Linked DNA regions of Homo sapiens: region 2 is linked to region 1. Evidence: promoter capture Hi-C in 16 types of primary human blood cells and fetal thymus (Javierre and others, 2016). All regions are on one chromosome and are shown on one strand. Each heading gives the region's core, a stretch centred on a gene start or on the middle of the fragment in contact. The rest is flanking DNA. Distances are from core to core; before and after follow the strand shown. Region 1 holds the start of PIP4P2 (phosphatidylinositol-4,5-bisphosphate 4-phosphatase 2). Region 2 holds the start of C8orf88 (chromosome 8 open reading frame 88).

Region 1 (5,014 bases), core at 2,227-4,726:
AGCAGGAGGCAGGCTGAGAAAGCCATTGATGGTGGGAGAATGTGATAAGAAGCGATGTTTGAGAACCAGAGCCTAGATCTTAGGGATCCCTTACCTTCCACCATCATCCTCTTAGAATAGTGTTCTGAGAATACGAGGTATATGAGGAAGTCTGGAATAAAGACTACATGAAGAGAATTGCCCAGTGAGCCCAAATTTCCCAGCTGAGCCTAGCCCCCAGCAAACCTGCCAGCTGAATGCTGCTGCCTGAATGTTCAGGCAAGTCTGACAGAATGGCCACCCAGTCAACTACAGAATCATAGAAAATAACAACTCATGTTGTTTTAAGCCACTGAGTATTGGTATGGTTTGTTAGCAGTAGATCGCTGAAACAACAGCTTAAGTACATTAGATCTCACATATTATCTGTTTATAGAGTATTTTTATTCCAATAGACACATTAGCTCATCTCATGAATAGAGATGGCAAAGTATCATAATCATAATCATAAAAATACCTTGGATTGATGAGTATTATTTAACAACTATTGAGAAACCATAAACCATAGTATGATCTTTAACCTAGAATGAAGTAGTACTCATCTCATAAAAGCCTTTTGCTTTTTGTGGAAGTTGAGATTGCTGCAAATATAATCTCAGTATATCTACTACCTTTTGTAGTGTAAGAAGAGTAACTGTCATGAGCCTCAAATGAGTTCTGCAGTAGAGAAACCATATAATGAAGTAAAGAAAAAAACAAACAACAACAAAAAAAAAACCTTTATACTGATCACTACATGGGCAAAAAAGAAGACAGTTGTAGAGGTATGATGGAATAAAAAAATTGATCAGTCAGATGGCAAAACTGTCATCTTCATCAAAATGCCAAGAAATGTTCTTAATCTTTTTGTGCCAAACATTTTGTTTTAGTAAGATTCTGGGACTGTGTATATTTGTTCATTCACTCAATTGTTTATTTGACAAATATCGAGTGTTTACTAATGTGCCAAGCATTGTGCTAGATACTGGAGATCTAGTTATAAATAAGATAGATAGGTTTCTGACCTCAGAAATTTGGTTGGGGCTGGAGTTGTCACAATGGAGTGTGACAGGTAACACGACAGAATACTATAGTAGTAAGATTTTGTTGATTTTTCTCATAATTTTCTTTAACTCAATAGTCTCCAGGCTGCAGTTATAAAAACACTGCTGTTCATTTTTGTAAATTACAGGCACTTTTGCAGGAAGTGCTACATCTTGATTCTGTACTTTCCAGGTTCCTGGAGACCTAGAAATGCCCTTATATCATATAGGGATCCTTATATTGTATTGTATCCTGATGCTACTGATCCACAAAAGATGCTGCGTGAGTGCAAACATCATTATTTGATTTCCCCTTAGGATTTCCAGCTGATGCCTAAGTGGATTTTTCTGGAAGAAAGAATGTATCTTTAGAAAGCAGAGTGAGGATCCTTCCTAATGTAATTTGAAACATAGTTTCGTATGTCTAACTTCTGCTTTGCCTCATGCTCACTGAAATCTACAGCTAGCCTCATTTTCCACTTGTTTTTGACTCTCTCAGGCATCTTGAGGATTGAGATCATGTCGTAGTTATCTTTTAGACTTAGTAAATGAGTAATAAATGTTTCTTTTGAGTGACTCAAAAATTATTGCAGAAAAATTATCATCCTAGATCATTACTATTTTTCTATTGCATTTTTATTTAGACATGTTCAAAACTTTATTTATTTTTTTTTTTTTGAGACGGAGTTTCACTCTTGTTGCCCAGGCTGGAGTGCAACGGCACGATCTCAGCTCACCTCTACCTCTGCCTCCCGGATTCAAGTGATTCTCCTGCCTCGGCCTCCCGAGTAGCTGGGATTACAGGCATGCGCCAGCACGCCTCGCTAATTTTGTATTTTTAGTAGAGATGGGGTTTCTCCATGTTGGTTAGGCTGATCTCGAACTCCTGACCTCAGGTGATCTGCCTGCCTTGGACTCCCAAAGTGCTGGGATTACAGGCGTGAGCCACCACGCCTGGCCTCAAAACTTTAATTTGTTTTCATATTCATGTAAACTACTTTTGGATAATATGACAAACCACCAAATAAAAAAGAAAAGAAAAACATATAAAACATGGCAAGAACTGTGTTTTTAAAGAAAAAAGTTATTCAGTGATTCTTGTCAAAGCATGGTAAGGAAGACTGTATTTAGGGCTATAGTGATAGGTATAGGGACCATGGCAGCAGGGTCTTGCCATGTTGAAGAAGAGATTAGGCTCAATTCTGAATGCAGCATGGACAAGTGGGAATTTATAGCCTAGGAGCATGCAGGACAGGGGCAGTAGATGGAAAATTACCAAGGAAATATCAGGGATAAGGGGGATTCTGACTAAACCAAGCAAACGGGATTCTTGCTGAAGACAGAACAGGAGTTCAGGCCTCACATGGGGGATGCTGGAGGATGAGGAACCTGATCAAATATCAATATTGAGAATGGGGCTTCTTGCTAAATTAAGTTAGTAGGGTTCTTTGCTAAAACTGGATTTTATAAGGAAGTGCAGATGGGCCCAGCATAAGATTCAGAAACCTTACTTGTTTGACCAAGCAAAGAATCTTTGTCAGTGCTTAGGGTTTTTTGTGTTTTAACTCTGTTTTACAAGTAAACGATTATTTTAAAACTTTTGTCTCAAGAAACTTGTTTTTCGTTGTTTGACGTTATTCATAAACCTACTTACTGTATATGTGTCAGGGACAATAGGCTACAAAACCAAAACTAAGATGACAACCTATTTTGTAAAATGAAACTTGTAAAAGGCAACACACTGCATAGTTCCAAAAAGGTACTGTTACCAGAGTTCCAAACCGGTCAGGCCAACATTCCTGTTGTTAAAAAAAATCAATCAGGAAAAGTAGGGAATGCTGACACTTCCGCAAAGATCTACTTTCTCTTAGATAACAGATGTTGAAAACTGATTTCCCACAAAAAAACCCTAGAGGAATTGATAACCCCAGGAAGATGTTTTCTTTATATAACTGCTGCAAAGTTTGACAGCAAAGAGTCAGTCCCTCCTCCTCCTTAGGGGAGATAAACTTGATAATCTGCTTTTGCTCCAGTTTTCTTGTAATCAAGTCACAGGCCTTTCCTCTTCGCTAGCCCCTTTCAGGCTGCTTTTTATCCGTCTTTCCTAGAGCAAAGGACTTGTCCCCCTCCATCCCATTTACTCTCGACCCCCTTTCAGTTACTTGGCATCTTCTTTTCCTCGCGTTTCCCAGTTGGTCCTAATTTGTTCCCCTTTTCTCTGGCTGGCTGGGCTCCCGCTCCTCCACTGCTGCTCCTCCCACTCTGCGGGTTCTTTCTTTCTCCCTCCCCTCCCCTCCCCCAGCCATGCCTCCCAGCGCGCTTCCCTTCCCCCGCCTCCTGGTCCTGCACCCTCCCCTCCCCTCCCCCCGCTTCCTGCCTTGTGACACATCCCGGGCCCTCCCGGAGGCGGCAGCAGCAGCAGCTGCAGCGGCAGCAGCGGCAGCAGAGGCAGCAGCAGTAGCCACCACTCCGCCGAGGCCGCAACCCCGGCTCGGCCTCCCCAGGCCCCGCCGCTGCCGCAGTCATGGCTGCTGATGGGGTGGACGAACGCTCGCCTCTGCTGTCAGCATCCCACTCCGGAAATGTCACTCCCACCGCCCCACCGTACTTGCAAGAAAGCAGCCCCAGAGGTAAGGCCAGCGTAGATCCCTCTACTTTGCAAGGAAGTAGATTTGCAAGGAAACGCCCAGAAGGATAAAGACCTGGGAGCTCTAGCTTGGAGGTGGAGGTGAGCCTCTCGCTTGGGCTGAGGAAGGATGCTGACTGTGCCTTCCCAGGCAAGCCCGCCTGCCTGATAGCTTCTCCGCAGGGTTTTTCTGGTGGTGGTGGTGATGGTGGTGGTGGTGGTGGTGGTGATGGTGGTGGTGGTGGTGGTGGTGATGGTGTGTGTGTGTATTTCACCACTTCTTACCCAGGGCTACAGTATGTGACATGAATTTCCCAAGCTCTGCTTAGCTGTTTTCAGAACAGCCCCTAAGCGCAGCTAGGAGGTGGTGCAAATCTTTCACAATCATTCACAAATCTTTTTCCGTTGCTGAGAAACCAGGAGTATTGCTCACCTTGGCATCTGTCCTTGAAAGGGCTTTAGCTTGAACAATATGCTTCTGCTACCATTCACCCAACAGTGCTCTGTTCACTCAGTGAATTGCCATATCCAAAATGAATACAGTTAATCAATATTCCTAATATGTCTGAAATTCCTGCCCCTCCTTTTTACTCCTACTTTCAAGGAGTATGTGTTAGATTTAATTGTGAATGAGAAGGAAGGACCTTACTTCTCATAGAAGGGAAGATGGGATATTTTTAACACATATCTGGGTGAGATTGAAATTAACTTGTAAAAAGTAACCCAAATTAATAATACATATATTTCTATTTTTTTCTCAAGAAGAATAAAAAAAGATTAAATGCAATGGGATCTGGAGAAATATGGAATCTATTTACCATACTATTCGATTTATTTAAAAATCGATCGTTGTTCTAAGCCTTTTAGTTGATTACTATAGTAAATAAATAAGGTGGAGTCAGGCGTTACAAGAAAATGGAAGGCAAGACTTAAAAAAACCCACTTAGGTTAGTGAAAAGATTGGTCAAAATGGCACTTGCAAATGTTCCTTAAGTGCATCTCTCTCTTTTTTTGGCTAAATATGAGCAAAGTTTAAAAACCCAAGGAAGCAAAAGTTAATGATTTTGAAAATATAAGTAGGTAATGTTTCTTGTAATACAAGTTTTTAAGTTCAAGTCTGGAATTAGAGCTGATGTAGAGCAGGTTGAACTTGCTTAGTATTTAAAATTTCTATTTAACATTTTGTAACTTCAAAATAAACTATCTAGATCTTAATCCATACTTAACAAGAAGAAAAACAAAGGAAAAAGATGCTTAGCTGTAAATAATTCAGTGTGAGCCATGGCTTGAGAAATAAGGCACAGAGAGAGACTTGCCCACAGAAAAC
Region 2 (5,389 bases), core at 650-3,149, 56 kb after region 1:
AAGAAAATCAGTGACAACAAATTACAGATTTTTAAAAAGATGATAAATACCACAAATATTTTAGAAATTCAGTAAAATGATATTTTAAATTAACTACCTGAACCATTGCTATGTTTTTCCTATATTTTTAGTTTTCATTTTTTTATTGCCTCATCATTTGACAGTAATTTTGTAATGCACTTTCCCTGGTGATAATGAATAATGTGGTAGTCTTTTCAAAGCAAAGTTAGTCAACATGTATTTTTTGTTATTGAAAGCTTAAAAAAGTTATTGCAGTTTCACAATTTGTTATTGGTAATAATGCCAATTTTTAGTATTGCTAAATTTGGGGAAACTCATCTTAAGGTTCTTAGGTGAACTCTGTGATTTCAGGGCACTTCAAGTTTTCTCAGGCAGTGACTAACCTTTAAGTTGCTAAAAGTCATTAACCTGTTTGTTGTCAAGTTCTTGTTGTAAAGGTATGAATTCTAGATTATCCTTGTAGATGCCAAAATTTTATGTCATTATCAATAAGATTTTGAAAAGTTTCGATATGTTTATATGGTTCATTTTTCTTCCTCAATTATCAAAAAATCAAGGAGTCTGTCTAGTCTAATTTCTCTCTTCCTCTCAATAAATTACTAATACTGATCTGAATTGGAATTCTTCCAATTTACATTTTTGTCACAATAGTTTCTACTGACTTCATACAGTGATATGCACAAAATAATTTTATTGTAAGATGTATATAAAATTATACATGCTTCATTGTTAAGTATATTCCTGAAGAAGAAAACTTCTGTTGTGACTAGATGGATGAGAACCACATCCTGCACTTAAGATTTTCTACATCTGGTGGTTGGAATATATTGATTCCACTGTGCAGACTTCTGGTGCCTCACCCCAAGGGATGCCCTTTTATCATGACCCATCTCTGACCCTGGACCCTAGGTCTCTGATGCCAGGCGAGTTGTCTCAGTGGATAGTAGGAGTGTTTCTGGAAGCCATTTCTAAACGGAGACAGCTCCAATAACTTGACTATACATGGAAGTGCTTGTGAAACTTCATACCTTCCAAAATGGTAAATCCTGATAGTGCCCCACTTAAAACCGTTCAGTGTTTGCCAGTGCATTTTCAACTGTCCTTTTGGTGCTTGGGGACGTGAGGGACTGCCACCTCCACGTCCCTCAGTACAAGCAGACAGTCCCCCTCTGGGGACACTCAAAGATAATGAAAAATTAGCAAAAGGATTGAAGGTGAAGATTAAAAAGAAATGATTCGGATGGAGTTGCCTTAATTCATTTTGTTCCTTTCAGGATGGCAGTCTGTGTGAAACGCTGTATCCCTGGTCTGAGGTAAACCAGGTCTCAAACATCTTCCTCCCTGCCAACCCGAATCCCGACACCCACTAAATGCACCAAGGGGAAAGCAGCGCCTGCCAGCAGCTCTGACGGGGGACAGGAGTAGGGTGGACTCAGTCGTCAGCACGACGGCGGCCTCCCTCACAGAGGCGGCCTCCCTCACAGACGCTGCCTGGAACCCGCCGCCAAGCCCCCAGCAGGCGGCCCGCCTGGCGCCTCCCAGTCTTCGCACAAGCAGGGCCACGGTCTGGGGCCCCCAAGGCCGTTCACGCGGGCGCGCCCCGTCGAGGGCTAGCCTGTCAGCGCCTCACTCGCGGCCTCCTACCCTAGACGACCGGCTCTGGGTGGCGCCGCTCCAACCCCACGCGCCCAGCTCGCCCGGGAAAGCGCGCGCCACCCTTTTAACGGTTCTACCCCGGCAGGGGTGCGGCTGCTCTCGAGGCTCAGCGCCCGAGGCCACGCCCCGCGCCCGCCCTGGGCCCGCCTCGTGCCCCTCGGAGCCGCCTCCCGCCCCGCCCCCCGCCCCTCGCCCCCCGCCCCTCGCCCCCCGCCGCCGCCACCGCGGTCAGCCAGCGGACCAGCGGCAGGAGCCGTTCCCCGACGGGCAGCAGGGCGCTCGGCCTCCGCGTGTGGGCTGAGCGCGGCGACGCTGCTGCCCCGAAATCCCCGTGGATTTTGAGTCGGTAAGTGGCTAGGGAGGATGAGCGACACTGGGGGACGGAAGTCGGGCCCCGTGGTGTGGAGGAGGCGGGTGGGCGCCGTCTCCCAGGCCCGACCCCGGGAAAGTTGAGGCGAGGAAGAGAAGCTCTGAGGTGGGTCGGGAAATCTCTCAGGGCCCCTTCAGTACCCTGTGGACCCTGAATGGGAGTGGGATGGGAGCGAGAGCGTCGGATGAGGGGAAAGAAAGTGTAGGGGGCCAGGGGAGCCCGACGGAGGGGCAAGTGGCCGAGACCAAAGCCATCGCCAAAAAAGGAGCTAAGTACACAGCTCCCCTTGGCTCTGCCCCAGCACCTGGTGCCAGGCGGTGGGAGGCTTTCAAGACGATTTGCCCCCTCCACCCGGTGGCACAAGGTTTTCATTGCTGGTGTTTTAGTCAAAGCTACGGAAAGGACAGTTACATGACTAAAGTAATCACAGACACCTATTACCTGGACAGCTTTAGCCCATCCGAATGTTAAATTGTGTTTTGTTTTGAGAAATCCCTCAAATAGACCAAAAAAAAAATTAAATTAGTTATAAAGAGAAGGCATGAAATGGAAGATATGTTGGAACTCTCCAAGCTTCTAGTTTTTTGATATTTTCGTTTTAATTTTTCCTTAATAGTGCAACCAGATATATGGAACGTGAAATGTCTTTCACCACTTGAGTCATAGGTGGTTTATTTCTTACTCCCCGATGTTTCCTGTATGTTTCTCTTCATCTATCATTTTGTCAGTGTGAGCAGTTTACTTACAAGCAGTATTGGGTTTCAAGGAATCCTAACTTTGTAATGTTTTGAAGTTGGAAATTGAGATGAAATTTTATCTGGTTATCATATGGGAATTATACACAAGGTAAATTCAAATATGGTCTTTTCATTTCATTATTTCACTTTATATGATCTTATTTCTCAACGGCAGCGGTAGCATCAGTACTTTCCAAAGAAGACTAGAATTTATATTGGAGTTTAAGTATAGTACTCAGCTTCTAAAAACAGTGCATAGTATATTTCATATGCTGTGATCTATGGTTAGTATGGCAGTATACCATGTCTGTAGCGTGAGGAAAGCACAGTACTCCCTAATTTATTTAGTATTCTAAGAAAAATGGTAAATTGAAGAAATGGATATTATTAGCATATACCAATTTATTCTGCATGGCCTTATAAATAAATGTTACTTTTCACATTAATTTTTAAATCTATACACGCAGTGTCCACATGTAATAAATGGACAGTCAGATATCTTTCTTTTATGTAACAAATAGGCAAGTTTTGATATAAAGGTGTGAACTTTGTAGTCAAATCCTAATATCTAGCACTTAGTAGCTATGTGGACTTGGGCATGTCTCTTATTTTTCTGAGCCTCAGGTTTCTTATCTGTGAAGTGGGACTAATAATAATTTTCTTCCACCGTTCATATATGGCTCAAAATTAAATGAAATTATATTTAGTATGTAGTAGGACCTTAAAAAGGCATCTTAATTAAAAAATAAGATTAATAAGATTTTGGCCAAAGTGGTCAATGTATCTGCTTATTATCCCATTGTATTTTAGACAATTCTAGGTTTACTGGTAATATCAGGACTGATAAGGCCTGAAGATTCATACTTAGGTAAATTTTTTAAAAAGAAAAGGAACCTAAGATATAGTTAGTATTGCCAGGTGTAGAATAGCAACTGTAAATAACTAACTGATTTACCAATATTCTATTCATACAACTTGGTCTTTAAAGATGATTTGTTAAGTGTGTGTGATCTTGAAAAAAACTATTCAGCAACCATTTCTCAGTATGTATTAATAGAAAGTTTTTTTGGAGACATTGGATCAAAATATCCTTTAAAAAACATTTATACCACAAAACTATACATTTACATTTTTAAATTTACATTTTACAACCTTATGATAGGCCCACTACTTGCTACCCAATGTTGTAGGCAGAATTCTGTTTATTTTGTAACTGTGCTTTGAATCGTTGATATGATACATGGCTACTCTAGGTAGCACCAGTAGCTTCAAGGGAAACTTTTTGATCTCTACATTCCATGGATGAAGCAGGCATTAGAGTTTAAGACTGAATTTGTTTTGTATAATGACTTTGTAGTGCAGTTAAGTCTTTATTATTTTTAACTAAACTGAGAATTAGGTTTTGGTTTATGGAGTTCTGCCTTAATTATAATCTCGTGACTCAGTTTTACAATAATAATTACTTTTTATAAATACTTAACCTTTTTCATTAATAACATGATGGTGGAATGTACTATGCATTGTAATCCCAAACTTGTCCCCTATAATGTCAGTGTTTCCCTGCAGGCATCGTTTACTTTAAAAAAAAATATTAAACAGAGTACTGAATGACACCATCTTTTCTAATTTCCTTAACTGATGTGGATTTATATACAGGGAGCCATTGCTGTATCTTTCCTACTGTAAATTGAAGGGTAGGTGGCACCAAAAGAGCTTTGATTTTTTGTTTATTTACTTGTGTTGCAAAGTCATATAATGGAGTTCTGTAATCCCCAACTCTTGAAAATCCCTAGTTTGAATACTGTGGATTTGCCTTGCTCAGCGATTGGAAAAGACTTAACAACCTACAACTAAATTTCAGCTGAGCAATGAAAAACAACGAAGTGTGTGCCAAAGTACTCTATCCTATTGTATTCTGATTCACTAGTTTCATATGGGGAACAGGATGGAAAGTTACTACATACTAGTATTAGGGTCTTAACTAAAATAGCTAGGATAAACATCAAATAAAGCAATGTATATTAGGTTGCTTTTTGGTCCTTATTTTAAATATACTCTTCTACATAGAAAATATTAATAACTTTATTTGAAGTATTTTTTCTATTTGTGCTTATAACTTTTTTTTCATCTTGTTATATCCAATTGTATTGCACAAAAAGTACAGAGAGCATTAGTTTTGCCACGTTGAAATACTAGCTAACAGACACATTACAAAGCTGGGTTGGTATTAACTTGAAGTACTTGCTGGGTTATCTCCAAATAGTAACTTTTGGGTGCTTACTTATCATTCCTAATTTTGAGAGGTTGTTTATAAGTTTATAATTTTAACATTTGAATTATACATGTCCAAAGATATTTAAAAAATAGGATAAAGCATTTCTGGGAACTTAAAGGGTTACTAACTCTATCTTATACTTGGTGAAATAGGCACTTAGACTTATGATTTGCTTAATATCATATGGTTACAATTATTTCTGGATAAGCAGGTGCAAAATCAAGTGGAGTTTTATTTTTGACTTTGTCTTGATGGGCATCAAAATTTGGAAATCTTGTGTCCCATACAGGTGTCAGATTTTAGTTGCAATGACGAGGTACTTAGCGTTTA

What was found. The method cuts DNA at HindIII sites, captures the fragments that hold promoters and counts their contacts. A CHiCAGO score of 5 or more calls a contact.
Region 2: the fragment with the promoter of C8orf88 here is called in contact with the fragment with the promoter of PIP4P2 in region 1 in 17 of 17 cell types (naive CD8 T cells, fetal thymus, monocytes and 14 more); the score reaches 11.9 in naive CD8 T cells.

Annotation. Positions count from the first base shown.
Region 1 is chr8:91,039,321-91,044,334 of GRCh38, reverse strand. It overlaps PIP4P2 (phosphatidylinositol-4,5-bisphosphate 4-phosphatase 2), which reads left to right and starts at 3,476. Exons shown (of 7, transcript NM_018710.3): 1 at 3,476-3,691. The coding sequence starts at 3,586. RefSeq lists a silencer at 3,255-3,454. The HindIII fragment of the contact is 15,293 bases long and covers 1-5,014 here.
Region 2 is chr8:90,981,748-90,987,136 of GRCh38, reverse strand. It overlaps C8orf88 (chromosome 8 open reading frame 88), which reads left to right and starts at 1,899. Exons shown (of 6, transcript NM_001190972.2): 1 at 1,899-2,023. RefSeq lists a silencer at 1,716-1,875. The HindIII fragment of the contact is 2,363 bases long and covers 260-2,622 here.